5 separate regions of the Homo sapiens genome follow, and regions 2, 3, 4 and 5 are each linked to region 1. The links are contacts of gene promoters, found by promoter capture Hi-C in blood cells and fetal thymus (Javierre and others, 2016). All regions are on one chromosome and are shown on one strand. The core of a region is centred on a gene start or on the middle of the fragment in contact, and the rest is flanking DNA. Distances in the headings are between cores, read along the strand shown. Region 1 holds the start of NCOA2 (nuclear receptor coactivator 2). Region 2 overlaps SULF1 (sulfatase 1). Region 3 overlaps SLCO5A1 (solute carrier organic anion transporter family member 5A1). Region 4 overlaps SLCO5A1 (solute carrier organic anion transporter family member 5A1). Region 5 overlaps SLCO5A1 (solute carrier organic anion transporter family member 5A1).

Region 1 (2,887 bases), core at 174-2,673:
CCGGGCCAGCGGAAGGGGGCTCCAGTCCCCGATTCCCGCCCCTCGGTCCCGCAGGCCCCGGAAACCACTAGAGGGAGGGGAAGAGGGAGGGGCCATCTAACCAGGGACCGACCCACCCCCGGTCTCGGAAGAGGCGCCTCTGGGACTCCCCCGAGGGGAGGAGGCGGGGAGCGCAGCCGGCAGCGACGACCCCGGCCCCCTCCCCCAGCACCCCCCAGGGGCCCGAGAGGGCCGGGTCCCCGTGCCCGGGGCGTGACCGTCGCGAGGCGGCCACAGGGCCCCTCCCGCTTCCCGCCTGGGGCCCCGAGGGCCTGTCCCTTCAGGGGCGGAGAGAAGGGGGCGAGAAAAGGGGGCGCTGGCGAGCCAACCCGGAACCTCCCGGTCCGCCTCCCGCCCCCGGCCCCGGCCCCAGCGCGCCTCCTGCATACACGCCCGCACCCAGAAAGTTCAGTCAGGGGCGAGCCCGGCTCGGCGCCGCCGGGGCCCGGCCCCCGGCTCCCCGCCCCCACCACGGCCCGGCCTGCTCGGCCCCAGCGCGCCGCCCGCCCCGCCCGCCGCAGCTCCTTCCCGTCCGCCCGCGGTGCTCGGCGCCCCTCGCCCCCCACCCCCGGGGCTGACACGGGCCCGGGCCACCCGCCGGGCCGCGGCTCCCCTTCCCCGCCCCGCGCTGCAGCTCGCCGGCCGCCCCGACACCCCGCTTCACCTTCACACACCCCCAGCACTTCCCGAGTCCTGCCTCCCCTCGCCCGGCTCCCACTCTCCGCTGCAGCCGCTCCGCGCTTCCATTAAAGAATGCACCTTCCCAGGATTCACCTTCTCGGCTCTGCCGCGCTGCCCCCGAGGGGTTAGAGCCTCGGTCTCCGCCGACCCCGCACCGGGCTGGGCAATGGGCACTCGCTCCTCGGGGCGGGGGCCGCGCCCGCACCCCCGGCCGCGCCTCGGCGCTCACCTCTCGCCCGCGCCGCGGGCTGCAGCCTCCGCCCGCCTCGCGCTCCGGGACTCGTCTCCTGAGCTCTCGCAAGGCGCTGGAGCGCCTCCTTTCTCTCCCGGGGACTCCGCGTCTCCCCGTCGCTTCCCGCCCTCCCCACCCCCAAGCCCCAACTCCCCAGCGTCGCTGCGCCTCCGGGATGCAACTCCCGTTTTCCGCGCACTCCGGCGGCGGTCCCCGCACACAAAAACAGCCTCTCGGAGGCGCACGGCTCTGTCGGAGCTCGGCGCAGGAAGGGCAGTCGCGGCCGGGGGTGGGGACGCGGCGCCCCCCGCCTGCCGCCCGCCCCCCGCCCGCCCTCGCGGCCCCGGGGGAAGGCGCGGTTACCGGCTCGGGTCGGTCACGCCGTCAGGTGCCGGCTGCCGTCGGCGCTGACCTTCGCCGCCGAAGCTGTAGCCGAGGCTGCGGCCGCCATGTTCCCGTGTTAATAACTGCTGCCTGGTTGTTTATTTCAATGGAGATCCTCCCCCAACTCCCTCCTCCTCCTCCTCCTCCTCCTCCTCCTCCGCGTCTCCGCACTTGCGGAGAGACAGACAGCGCGAGCTCGCGAGCAGGGGAGGGGGCTCGGGAGCCAGGCCGTCCCTCCCTCTGCCTCCCCGGCAGTGGCCGCCGCCAAGTCCTGTCACCGGGAAAAGGACGGGGCGGAAACTTGCCTCTCGCGCCCCCGAGGAAGGGGCAAAGGTGGACGCAGGGTTGTCCGGGGAGCAGCCCCTGGCCGCGGGGTCCGCAGCATCTCCGTCGGCAGAGTCCTCTGAGAAGGCGGCCCGGGGAGAGGTGAAGAAGAGTAAGGGGACAGGGGACAAAATGGGTGACTGTGGTAGAGGGAGGGTGACCTAGAGGTGACTGGAACTGAAGAGAGAGTCAACAGAGGACTGCATGGGAGGGCAAAGGGCAATGCCAAAAAGAAAACTAGCGACTGGGACGGGCCTGGGCCGCTGAGTTAGAGGCAGTGGGGCCTGGGGGCTGCAGACGGCAGGGACGGTGCCCCAGGACGAAGATCGGGGAGAGCCGAGTTCCAGGGTCGCCAGCAGAGGACCCTCGCGCCCGTCCGGCCGGACCCTTCGGCCAGCACCCTGCACCCCCTCGGGCGCACCTCACCCTACCCAACTCCCGGTCCTGCCGCTGCTCCCCGGAGGCGCCCCGCATCCGTCAAGTCCCCTACGGCTCCAACAGGGAGAGGCTTCTCCCATTGCAGTCCTAGCTCCAGAGGGGATGGAGAGGCGCGACTGTGGGAGCTGGAAGGGGCACCACCCGGCAATTGCGGGATAAAGCAAATGCTGCACACAGAGTGTGAAACTTAACCTGGTTGAGAATTTTCGGCACATCATGAAATCATAAGTTTGTATTGGAAAGTCCATTCTCTAGACATCCGTGAACAAAGTACTGAGGGGACGTAGGAGATTGGCACTGAAAATGCGAGAACCCCCATTTAAGTGTTACTTAGACCAATCTGTTTTACGCTTTGGAAAAGCAAGTTTTTTTTCCAACTTATACGGTAATTAGTTGAAAAAAAAAACTTTTGTTTAATGGCAGTTATCAAACTATGAGAGGAACATATTCCCTGATTTTAATCTTATAATGAGAAAGGTCACTTGCGGTAGACAATAAGAGTGTTTATTGAACACTTACTGTGAATCTGACTGTGCTAGGTGATGTATATATGCTATAGGCCTTAATCCTCAAACCTTCCGAAGTCATTGCCGCTTTTCACTTCACACAAAAAATTGAAGCTTAAAGTAATTTGCCCAGGGTCACAGCCAGTAGTTGGAGAGGATGTGAGCCCAGTTCTGGTGAGCTCCAAAGCCCATGCTTTTAAACATGTCTTCATCCTAAAATTTGTGGGTGTACCGCCAATTTTATTTGGGAAAAGAATAAAAAAAATGTGTGGGGTGTGTGTGT
Region 2 (2,887 bases), core at 224-2,723, 740 kb before region 1:
TCTATGAGTACAGACAAAACTACAGACTTAGTCTGGTGGACTGGACTAATTACTTGAAGGATTTAGATAGAGTATTTGCACTGCTGAAGAGTCACTATGAGCAAAATAAAACAAATAAGACTCAAACTGCTCAAAGTGACGGGTTCTTGGTTGTCTCTGCTGAGCACGCTGTGTCAATGGAGATGGCCTCTGCTGACTCAGATGAAGACCCAAGGCATAAGGTTGGGAAAACACCTCATTTGACCTTGCCAGCTGACCTTCAAACCCTGCATTTGAACCGACCAACATTAAGTCCAGAGAGTAAACTTGAATGGAATAACGACATTCCAGAAGTTAATCATTTGAATTCTGAACACTGGAGAAAAACCGAAAAATGGACGGGGCATGAAGAGACTAATCATCTGGAAACCGATTTCAGTGGCGATGGCATGACAGAGCTAGAGCTCGGGCCCAGCCCCAGGCTGCAGCCCATTCGCAGGCACCCGAAAGAACTTCCCCAGTATGGTGGTCCTGGAAAGGACATTTTTGAAGATCAACTATATCTTCCTGTGCATTCCGATGGAATTTCAGTTCATCAGATGTTCACCATGGCCACCGCAGAACACCGAAGTAATTCCAGCATAGCGGGGAAGATGTTGACCAAGGTGGAGAAGAATCACGAAAAGGAGAAGTCACAGCACCTAGAAGGCAGCGCCTCCTCTTCACTCTCCTCTGATTAGATGAAACTGTTACCTTACCCTAAACACAGTATTTCTTTTTAACTTTTTTATTTGTAAACTAATAAAGGTAATCACAGCCACCAACATTCCAAGCTACCCTGGGTACCTTTGTGCAGTAGAAGCTAGTGAGCATGTGAGCAAGCGGTGTGCACACGGAGACTCATCGTTATAATTTACTATCTGCCAAGAGTAGAAAGAAAGGCTGGGGATATTTGGGTTGGCTTGGTTTTGATTTTTTGCTTGTTTGTTTGTTTTGTACTAAAACAGTATTATCTTTTGAATATCGTAGGGACATAAGTATATACATGTTATCCAATCAAGATGGCTAGAATGGTGCCTTTCTGAGTGTCTAAAACTTGACACCCCTGGTAAATCTTTCAACACACTTCCACTGCCTGCGTAATGAAGTTTTGATTCATTTTTAACCACTGGAATTTTTCAATGCCGTCATTTTCAGTTAGATGATTTTGCACTTTGAGATTAAAATGCCATGTCTATTTGATTAGTCTTATTTTTTTATTTTTACAGGCTTATCAGTCTCACTGTTGGCTGTCATTGTGACAAAGTCAAATAAACCCCCAAGGACGACACACAGTATGGATCACATATTGTTTGACATTAAGCTTTTGCCAGAAAATGTTGCATGTGTTTTACCTCGACTTGCTAAAATCGATTAGCAGAAAGGCATGGCTAATAATGTTGGTGGTGAAAATAAATAAATAAGTAAACAAAATGAAGATTGCCTGCTCTCTCTGTGCCTAGCCTCAAAGCGTTCATCATACATCATACCTTTAAGATTGCTATATTTTGGGTTATTTTCTTGACAGGAGAAAAAGATCTAAAGATCTTTTATTTTCATCTTTTTTGGTTTTCTTGGCATGACTAAGAAGCTTAAATGTTGATAAAATATGACTAGTTTTGAATTTACACCAAGAACTTCTCAATAAAAGAAAATCATGAATGCTCCACAATTTCAACATACCACAAGAGAAGTTAATTTCTTAACATTGTGTTCTATGATTATTTGTAAGACCTTCACCAAGTTCTGATATCTTTTAAAGACATAGTTCAAAATTGCTTTTGAAAATCTGTATTCTTGAAAATATCCTTGTTGTGTATTAGGTTTTTAAATACCAGCTAAAGGATTACCTCACTGAGTCATCAGTACCCTCCTATTCAGCTCCCCAAGATGATGTGTTTTTGCTTACCCTAAGAGAGGTTTTCTTCTTATTTTTAGATAATTCAAGTGCTTAGATAAATTATGTTTTCTTTAAGTGTTTATGGTAAACTCTTTTAAAGAAAATTTAATATGTTATAGCTGAATCTTTTTGGTAACTTTAAATCTTTATCATAGACTCTGTACATATGTTCAAATTAGCTGCTTGCCTGATGTGTGTATCATCGGTGGGATGACAGAACAAACATATTTATGATCATGAATAATGTGCTTTGTAAAAAGATTTCAAGTTATTAGGAAGCATACTCTGTTTTTTAATCATGTATAATATTCCATGATACTTTTATAGAACAATTCTGGCTTCAGGAAAGTCTAGAAGCAATATTTCTTCAAATAAAAGGTGTTTAAACTTTTTTCTGTTTCAGAGAAATGAACTTAACCAAGTTTTTGTGGTACACCCATTTCTTGCAAGTAAAATTGAGTCATGATCTCTATTTACATGATTGAATACTAACCAAACTTATAAAATGGAGCTGAAGTCAATGTGTTATAGAACGTTCTCAGATTAACAACTTCACCACGGATTTACCTCATTGCTGTCTTGAGGGAGGCAGCAGAGGCAGCGCCAAGGTAGCTTTCCCGGCAGGCAACCTAGATGGTCACAAAGGGCCAGCACTTGGTTTAATGCTCTGATGTCACCGCCTTGAAATCCTTAATAATTTTTTAACAAGGGGCCCCACATTTTCATTTTCCACGGGGGCCCTGCAAATCAGGTCTGGGCAGAACCAAAAATGGTTCTGGGCAGTAAAATGGAATTTTTCAAAACCAAGAGAACAGACCCACTGAAGGCAGTGTCGGTTCTTCAGGAACCAGGAACTTGGGTGGAAACCTAAACACCCTTCAAGATCTCAAGTTTTTTGATACACAAATTCCATATGCTTCCTTCTGTCTGTTCCAAATCTCCTGAAGAAATTTAGCCTTCAGGTTGAGG
Region 3 (2,887 bases), core at 101-2,600, 730 kb before region 1:
AAATGACATGACTTGCCATTTTTAAAGGACAGTGAAAATTTGCCATCTGCAAAGAGGAACTAAGAGGTACACTTGGAAATTCAGGGACGTACCAAGTGTTCGCAACAAAACAAACTGCATTCCCAGTGCAAAAGGTCTCTCCTCATCTTCTACGGACCTACAGTGAAGGGAAAGAAGGAAATGCATTTTAAATAGTAGCCCCAAGAAAATGAATGTCAAATCAAGTCGGCTTTGTGCAGAGCCAGGGACTAAAGATGCCATGCCAAAATATTTAATTCACTATTATTTACTAACAATAGCCACACAAGATTGCTGGTGGCTAAATCCCTGAATAAAGGTTTTCCCAATGTAGACATCAAAGAAACTCTGACTATCTCTAATTGTTTCTACAAAAATACTGGTAGAGGGTTAAAGGCTTTTGGCTGAAGAAGCTGGAATGCCTCTAACTGAGCTTCCAAAATCAGATCCATTTTTTTTTAATTATAGAATTTCATCTTAAATACTGCACGGTTTTTTTGTTTTTGTTTTTGTTTTTGTTTTTTTGCCTGTGTGCCTGCATCTTCCAGAGTGGTAGATGCATACATTGAAAATTACTCCAATAATTCTTCCAAAACAGGAAGAAAGAAGAGTAAAGAATAAAAGTATATTCAAAAAATGTATAGGAAACAAGTCAAAGATCAGAGGAAGCATAAGCCCTCCAACCACATCTTTTTTTCTTTTTTAAAAACTTATACTCCAAGTTATTCCCATGTGACAGGAAGATTGGAGTCAACTGGTTCTGTAATTAGCAAAGATTAAAGGGCTCCTTTTCTGAAATTTTAGGTTAGAAGCCAACTGGCGATTTGCCATTTATGAACACCAAAAGAAAAAGTAGCCAATGGGTTATTTAACATCTCTTGAGGAATTAAAGTGCAAAGAATAAGATTATTTGAGTAAATTTATGAATGATTCATGTCTTTTTAATGCTGCAGTACCTTAACCTCTCCATCACATACCCATGAGAGTATGGTATATAATAGGAACTTTCCCAAGACCAGTGCCCTTGTCACCTTTTCCCCAATTTCTTTATTTCTCAGAGCAATTTGCAAAGTGCTGCACACAGGTTGTTATTCCATAAATATCTGCTGCTGGAAGAACTGAGTAAACAAACCAGTGGGCCTTTCATGCACTACTATCTGGCTGTCAAGGAACAGCTTTGCTGGGAAATGCCTGATTCAGCACCAAGTGGGAAGGAAGCCAGAATACATCTGGTGCAGCCAACTGCCCTTGCTAAGCAATGACATCTCAGCAGGTGCTTCCTGCAAGGTGCCCAGCATTGTGGCATCTGAGGAGCCTGGAGAAAGAGTAAGAACTGACTCCCTTTCTTCATTCCTTCCCTGCACTGCACCCCCTAATCCCCCCTAATCCCCTTCCCTGCACTGCACCCCCTAATCTGGGCAGAAGCTGCCCAGACCCATGGGTGAGCTCTTCTGGCTTCACCACGCTGCCCAGTTCCTTTGTCCACTGCAGTCCTTACTGTAAATATCAACACACCGATGTGAATGTATCAGCGTGGCAGGCCTCCATAACAACTGTTTCAGTACAGACTGAGTGTTTAAGTTAAATATTAAAAGCCAGTGCCCTTATACAAATGCTGGAATGTAACAAAAGTCCACCAAGAATTTTGCCTAAGTCTTTCCTGGGCCTTAAAGCACGACAAAATAATGAACAAATTCTTAACAGGATCCATTTAGGATTAAACAAGTTTTATTGGGGGTCTGAAAAAACTCCCTAGGCCTCCATAAACAGGTTTATTGGGGGTCTGAAGGAACTCCCCAAACCTCCGTGATTTAGCAGGAGACAAGATAAGGGTAATCACCCCAGCACCTGGACCCATTTAGATTAAGTAAACTTACTGAGGCTCCAGAAGAAGGTCTTCAAGATTCAGATCTTAGTTATAAATTAAAAGAAATTAATCACTTATGTCTTTAGATGAATGCACACTTACACGTAGACAGATAGCTTAGAATGTATATAAGCTCTAATAAACTTTGTAATTTTGAGTTGGTCTGGTGTTTATTTCCAGGCCTTCTCCCTGTAACTGGTTACAGAAATAAAAACCCTCTTCCTCCCCTGTTCATCTGTATCACGTTATTGCAGTGCAAAAAAATAGCAGCCCGACCATCATTTTGGTCCAGGAACACCAGTGCCAACATTTTTAATAGGACAAAAGTAGCTTCCATGTCCTCTTATAAACAAAAAATCCAAACAAGATATGGCAAAGAAAGCACAGCCTGAAAAACTGAAAAAAAAAAAAAGGGAGAAATCACATTCCCCAATATGCCCTTTTCTTGACTCAACTCTGAAATTTTATATGATAGTAAAATTAATGAACTCAGCATTTCAAATTGCAGGCCCAGCATAAATCACCACTGATCCTGAAGGCAGTAACTATCTATAAGGTTGAAGATAATAGCCTTTGCTGTATGCACGATTTAGCAACTTTCTCAAATTACTTCCTGCCCTCCTCTGGGGTCCAGCTTCTCACAGCTGACAGAGTGATGACTTTCAACTCCTGAAGTTGAACCTCGTAGGGCAGAGACTTCAGGAATCAAAAACATCAAAAGACGTTTCATTATACAGTAAGAATATAACCCAACTGAATAAAGAACTTTCCAAAGTATGAAATGTTACAACCTTTCTTTCCCTTCCCAACAGGGAAAAATCCCTCCTAAGTTCACCAGGCAAATATCTGAGCGCCCTCCTGCACATGCTAATTTTGCTTTGCTCTCTGATTTACCACATAAGCCCCTTGTCCTGGATTATGTGCTCTGGAAATTATAAGTACAGAACCCACCCCAGAAGTTGAATGCTGTTCTCACCTGAGTGTTACTATGATAGCTGATGG
Region 4 (2,887 bases), core at 101-2,600, 670 kb before region 1:
TTGTAGCAATGAGCAATGGGCAACCCGAGTGTCCAGATGATGGTGTCCAAGTACCATTTTCCTGTCAAAGAAACCAAGATTCCTTGCAGATATACGACTGATCCGAGGTCCAGGGCAGGAAATGTGGAAGGTAAGTGAGTCACCTTTTGTCATGACAGAAACCACAAAGACTACTGAGGTAGAGCCAAAGGACACAGGTACTGACTTTAAGGGGCTCCCAATGGCCAAAGATTGGGCAACTGGAGCATCAAAAAGAATGATAACTGCGCCCGGTGCAGTGGCTCACGCCTGTAATCCCAGCACTTTGGGAGGCCGAGGCAGGCGGATCACGAGGTCAGGAGATGGAGACCATCCTGGCTAACATGATGAAACCCCGTCTCTACTAAAAATACAAAACATTAGCCGGGCGAGGTGGAGGGCGCCTGTAGTCCCAGCTACTTGGGAGGCTGAGGCAGGAGAATGGCATCAACCCGGGAGGCGGAACTTGCAGTGAGCCGAGATCGTGCCACTGCAGTCCGGCCTGGGCGAAAGAGCGAGACTCCGTCCCAACAAAAAAAAAAAAAAAAAAAAAAAAAAGATAACTGCAATGGAGTAAAGCACATCAAACACCTAAAAATGAGTTAATAATACTTTTAACAAATTATTGGCCACTATATAAATTTGCTAGAATATAAATTTTTACTCTGAAAACTAGTAAATAAAGAGAAAGAATCATATAAGAAATTACGGTCATTGGGGGAACTGGCCAAACAAGAAGCTGGTCATTTGGCGAACTGATTTGGAATAATTCAAAGAGAGAGAGAGAGAGCGTGTGTGTGTGTGAGAGAGAGATTCGTAATATGCTGCAAGCATGGACATCCCTCCCTAAGACTCCTTACTGTCTCCCGCCCCAGAAAGTTTCCACTACTTTACTCCTATGATCAAGATGAAAATAGTCACCTCTTACCATTTTATATGACTGTATTACCTCTCTTCGCGGGTGGGATTTAACAAAAAGCCTTCCAATTACCACTGTAAAGTAGACCAATACAATTTGTTTTAAAATCAGAAAACCTAACAAGATTTCCTAAAGGAAATTTAAATTTAGCACAGTTTCATAAAAGAAAAAGAGGAGAAACTGATTTTTCTTGATTATCTACTGTATACCAAATGCTTTAAGATCTAATTAGCTCACTTAATATTTTACAGTAGCCCTGGGGAATGATCACTCACATTTTACAAATGAGAAACTGAGACTCTGAGTGGGTAAGCAACTTGGCTAAAAGCCTACATCTAGTTAAGTCACAGATCTGGGATTCAGAGAGGTCTGTGTACTACATTAGGCTGCCCACAGCAAAACAAAACAGATAATATTGATTCTGGACATGGCCAGAGTTTGTGGGGATGCAACATTACTACAAATACCAGAGTGATGAATTGGTTAGTAACTAGTCCCTTTTAAGAAAACAATATAACTCTATAGGGAAGGTAAGAATAAATGTGTATTTGGTACACAGGGTTTTGGGAAAGTTATTTAATCTAAGATTTTAGGGAAGGAAGAATTATAGAGTTCATTTCAGTTCAAGTTATTGTTTTCTAGACTAGAAAACAGACCTGGAGAGAAAAACACTGTCCACCTTATGTACTGCGAAAGCCCTGGGAGTCCCTGCGAGGAGTAACTACACAGGCCTGGAATTAGCCTGAGCTGTCTTGCCAAATCATCAACGTGCATCTGTAGGGCACTGACTCCTAGTCAAGGCACAAAACATGTTCATGAACAGTGTTGCCTTATAACTATGGGTCCTAAGTGGTTGAGGATGGTTTGTACCAGCTTGTCAGCATTGTTTATTGACAAAAATGAGCATGAACTCTGTAATTTCTTCCTTCTCTAAAATCTTAGATTAAATCATTTTTCCAAACATGCTCATTTCATGTTTATTGTAACCAGTCTCACTAAGACCCCTGGAGAGCTCGGCTGTTGAAACTGGTTACATAGCAGGAATCTATGGGGCCAAGAAAATACTAAAAATATTCAAGCATGTGAGATGGCTTGAATATAAAAATATTCAAGCATGTGAGATGGCCTGTGGCTGCAAAGTATTAGGTTGGTGCAAAAGTAATTGCAATTTTTTTTTTTTTTGAGATGAAGTCTGGCTCTATTGCCCAGGCTGGAGTGCAGTAGCACAATCTCGGCTCACTACAACCTCTGCCTCCCAGGTTCAAGTGATTCTCATGCCTCTCAGCCTCCCAAGTAGCTGGGATTATAGGCACGTGTCACCACGCCTGGCTAATTTTTGTATTTTTTGTAGAGACGGGGTTTCGCCATGCTGGCCAGGCTAGTCTCAAACTTCTGACCTCAAGTGATCCACCTGCCTCAGCTACCCAAAGTGCTGGGATTACAGGCATGAGCTACCACACCCAGCCAGTAATTGCAGTTTTTGTCATTACTTTCAACAGCAAAAACCGCAATTACTTTTGCACCAACCTAATCATCTTTACTTTAATGCTGATGCCATGTAGTATCCTTTCCTGCAAGAAATGCCAATGTGTTTCTTATCATTTTGGGTCATCTGAGTCTTAAAAACATTGTTAAAGAGCAATTGAACCCTGTTTAACTGCCATTAGAGCACTGGCTAAGAACCTGCCACATGGTAGACACCCAAACATTCCTTAAATTAGTTGATTGATAAAGAGAAGCTGAGTGTTCTGACTTTTTGTCCACTATGAGCTCTTACAAAAGTTCTCATTAGCACTGAAGAGAAACAAATGTAATTCAGCATGATATTAATACATACCTCTCTCCCCAAAAGACAAAGAGCCTATAATTTTCACTTTTTGTTCCTAATAGCGTCTATTCATCTCAATAATGATTAAAATGATATAAGTGGGAAGACTTTAGCACCTGCTA
Region 5 (2,887 bases), core at 232-2,731, 650 kb before region 1:
TTCTGGAATTAAAGGGACTTATTGTCATTCAACAGATATATGAAATACTGAACAAATATTGTCTGGTCATGATCACTTCAAATTGTTTAGGTTATAGATTGCCTAATCTAGTTTAATATAATCAGTATTTTTAAGAGAAATAAAAATGAAAAAAAATAAACCATATATCACCAAGACCTTCTGGATGCTTTTACACTGCATTTGGAGGTCCATCCCCTGGCCACCCTTCTCTGGGGCCACATGCAAGCATTTGACAGAGCTGCTAAGTGAGATCCCTTTCTAGTGGTAGGTATTATACTTATGTAGGCATCAAACCACACTGCCAAAGCCACTATTCCCCTGAAATAAACCCTCCATGGCACAATGCACTTGATTTTTAATATTTTAAAAATCAGACATCTCTAATTATAGTAAATAACATATATAGACATCTGTTTCTTTATGATCTAAATCAGTGCTTCTCAAACTGTGTGTGAGGAAAAACCATTTTTTTAAATTATTATTTCTAGTCTGTCATCTACTAATACTTTTGCAAAATACACAAATGATGAATTATTTAAAAATTAATTTTTAAATAACATACAAAATATAACCTTAATTTTTAAATTATTCTTAGATGCAACAGGCAAAAAAATTACTCTGTCAAGTTTCTAAGAGTTTTGCAACACTTACTCTCAATCTTAGTACTTATCTGGCCACAGACAGTGGGTAGACAGCATGGGCCTGGGACCACACTATGAGTAGCACTGATCAAAGTGCCATGCATGTATTTATTCAAGAGGTATACTTTACCTCTGACATCCTTTCCAAATCCCATCGAAGAAACTTTTTTGTCCGCTTGTTCACTGTTGTTTGATTTCTCCTTCAGAACATCGTCATCACTAACAGCATCAACAGAAAATTTTTTCTTTTTCTTTTTCTTGTGTCGAGGTGGAAGCTTTTTTGGGAAAGTAAACATTGGGAATATCACAAGAAACATTGCAATGGCACAAAGGAGGAATCCACTCCACCTAAAAAATTGGAAAATGTGAATAGCATTTACGTCTTTTCTTTTGTGAGTGAGAACAAATTAGTAAAGCAGAAGTTTGTGGTGAAAAAATTTTGAAGAAAACTTTTTGTAATCAACTGTAAAGCAGTAGGAAGTTGAGCAAACTAAGAAAATGAAGGAATTCTCTCTTTCTGTGATATAAATGAGAAATCTACTCAATAATTATACCAGTGTTATACTGAATATTATAATCAGCAACCTGATTCGAATTTCATTCAAGTATTTTTGAGCACCAATGAGTTAGTTCTGCTAGCATTGCTAACCTTCTACAATGTGTATTTTATGATAAATCCCTAAATTATAAATTCAATAGAAAAATAATGTAGACAATAGCATGTTATGTGGACCAATATAGACTTTTTTTTGTCATAAGAAAAGCATTAATATCCCATGTGAAATATGTTTTAAATTATTGAGAATATTCAAATATTTTTCTGCAAACACTTAAGAATGTATTGACCCAGCTGGGCGCGGTGACTCACACCTATAATCCCAGCACGTTGGGAGGCTGAAACAGGAGTTTGAGACCAGCCTGGCCAACATGGTGAAACCCTGTCTCTACTAGAAATACAAAAATTAGCCAGGTGTGGTGGTGGGCACCTGTAATCCCAGCTACTCGGGAGGCTGAGGCAGGAGAATCACTTGAACTTGGGAGGCGGATGTTGCAGTGAGCAGAGATCAGGCCACTGCACTCCACACTCCAGCCTGGGTGACAGAGCAAAACTTAAAAAAAATAAAAAGAGAATGTATTGCCTCCCACTTAGCTGGCCTTCACAATACTTCACCAAGTATGAGGGTTACCAACAAAGACATTTAAACTTAGTCCTTGCCTTCAAGAACCTACAACCTGTTCATAAGCAAGCCAAAAATATAAGAAACCTCTAAGAAATGCAAAATGTATATAATTAAATATTAGGTTATATGGTACAGATTATGAGTGCTACCAAAATTCAGAGAGGGGAAATTAATGTGTATCGGAAAGCTTCCTAAAAGAAGTAGAACAGGAGCTATTAGACTCAGAATTCTGTCGTGAAATTCACCTGAGATTGCCACGTTGCAGAGCACTAGGAAGCAAACACAGGGAGTAGAATGAAATTGTAGTATTAGAGCCCTGGGCTTCTTGACTGCATGATGCCCCGTGGGGCAATTTCTCAGTTCCCTTTCAACATTTCCTTAGCAATCAGAGGTCCCTGGCACTCCCTAACAGGGTAGCCACGTTCTAACTATGATTCCTCACCTCCAAACTCTGCCATTCAAGCTTCCAAGTTCATAAATGCTCAACACATTCCCATCAACTGTAACCAGAATGCAAGCAGCATCATAAGTATTAACGCTGAATTCAATCAGGTAAGACTATAGATCCATTGCAAAGTGAAAATTCATTTTTTAAAATAATGTTTCTATTAAAGTGCTGTTATCAGCTGCTAAAGGTCACAGTTGAGAGAATGATTCCTACAATTAGTCATTAATAATTTAGTGTGCTATTTTCAAAGATATTTAAAGTTACATCAAATGAAGATTTTAAGATAGTCAGTAAAGGGCTTTATTTTGAGAAGTTTGTTCGGGGCAGACTTCCAGCAATCTCAGTTATTCAGAATGTAATCACCAGCCCAGTGCCTGACACAGATTAGGTACTCAAAAAAACATGCTGAATAAATAAATTGAAAGAGACAGTTTTAATTTTAAAAATGTCAGCTGGTTACGGTGGCTCATGCCTGTAATCCCAGCACTTTGGGTGGATCACCTGAGGTGTAATCCCAGCACCGAGATGGGTGGATCACCTGAGGTCAGGAGTTTAAGACCAGCCTGCCCAACATAGTGAAACCCCATCTCAACTAA

What was found. Contacts are between HindIII fragments. The CHiCAGO score rates a contact against its expected background, and 5 or more counts as called.
Region 2: a contact is called between a fragment that was not itself captured here and the fragment with the promoter of NCOA2 in region 1, in 1 of 17 cell types (naive B cells). The highest score is 5.8, in naive B cells.
Region 3: a contact is called between a fragment that was not itself captured here and the fragment with the promoter of NCOA2 in region 1, in 3 of 17 cell types (neutrophils, M0 macrophages and M1 macrophages). The highest score is 9.1, in neutrophils.
Region 4: a fragment that was not itself captured here is called in contact with the fragment with the promoter of NCOA2 in region 1 in 1 of 17 cell types (neutrophils); the score reaches 5.8 in neutrophils.
Region 5: a contact is called between a fragment that was not itself captured here and the fragment with the promoter of NCOA2 in region 1, in 2 of 17 cell types (neutrophils and total B cells). The highest score is 6.1, in neutrophils.

What each region holds. Positions count from the first base shown.
Region 1 is chr8:70,402,385-70,405,271 of GRCh38, forward strand. It overlaps NCOA2 (nuclear receptor coactivator 2), which reads right to left and starts at 1,424. Exons shown (of 23, transcript NM_006540.4): 1 at 1,316-1,424. RefSeq lists silencers at 21-680, 711-1,000, 1,041-1,350, 2,041-2,200 and an enhancer at 1,821-1,940. The HindIII fragment of the contact is 4,231 bases long and covers 1-2,716 here.
Region 2 is chr8:69,658,604-69,661,490 of GRCh38, forward strand. SULF1 (sulfatase 1) reads left to right here. Exons shown (of 23, transcript NM_001128205.2): 23 at 1-2,309. Among named protein-coding and RNA genes, the nearest start is that of SULF1, 170 kb to the left of the region's middle. The HindIII fragment of the contact is 267 bases long and covers 1,341-1,607 here.
Region 3 is chr8:69,676,517-69,679,403 of GRCh38, forward strand. It overlaps SLCO5A1 (solute carrier organic anion transporter family member 5A1), which reads right to left. Exons shown (of 10, transcript NM_030958.3): 8 at 2,862-2,887; 9 at 93-157. Among named protein-coding and RNA genes, the nearest start is that of SLCO5A1-AS1, 160 kb to the right of the region's middle. The HindIII fragment of the contact is 3,970 bases long and covers 1-2,887 here.
Region 4 is chr8:69,728,897-69,731,783 of GRCh38, forward strand. The region is part of intron 5 of SLCO5A1 (solute carrier organic anion transporter family member 5A1); the gene reads right to left. Among named protein-coding and RNA genes, the nearest start is that of SLCO5A1-AS1, 100 kb to the right of the region's middle. The HindIII fragment of the contact is 6,128 bases long and covers 1-2,887 here.
Region 5 is chr8:69,754,632-69,757,518 of GRCh38, forward strand. SLCO5A1 (solute carrier organic anion transporter family member 5A1) reads right to left here. Exons shown (of 10, transcript NM_030958.3): 4 at 793-1,010. Among named protein-coding and RNA genes, the nearest start is that of SLCO5A1-AS1, 78 kb to the right of the region's middle. The HindIII fragment of the contact is 1,093 bases long and covers 936-2,028 here.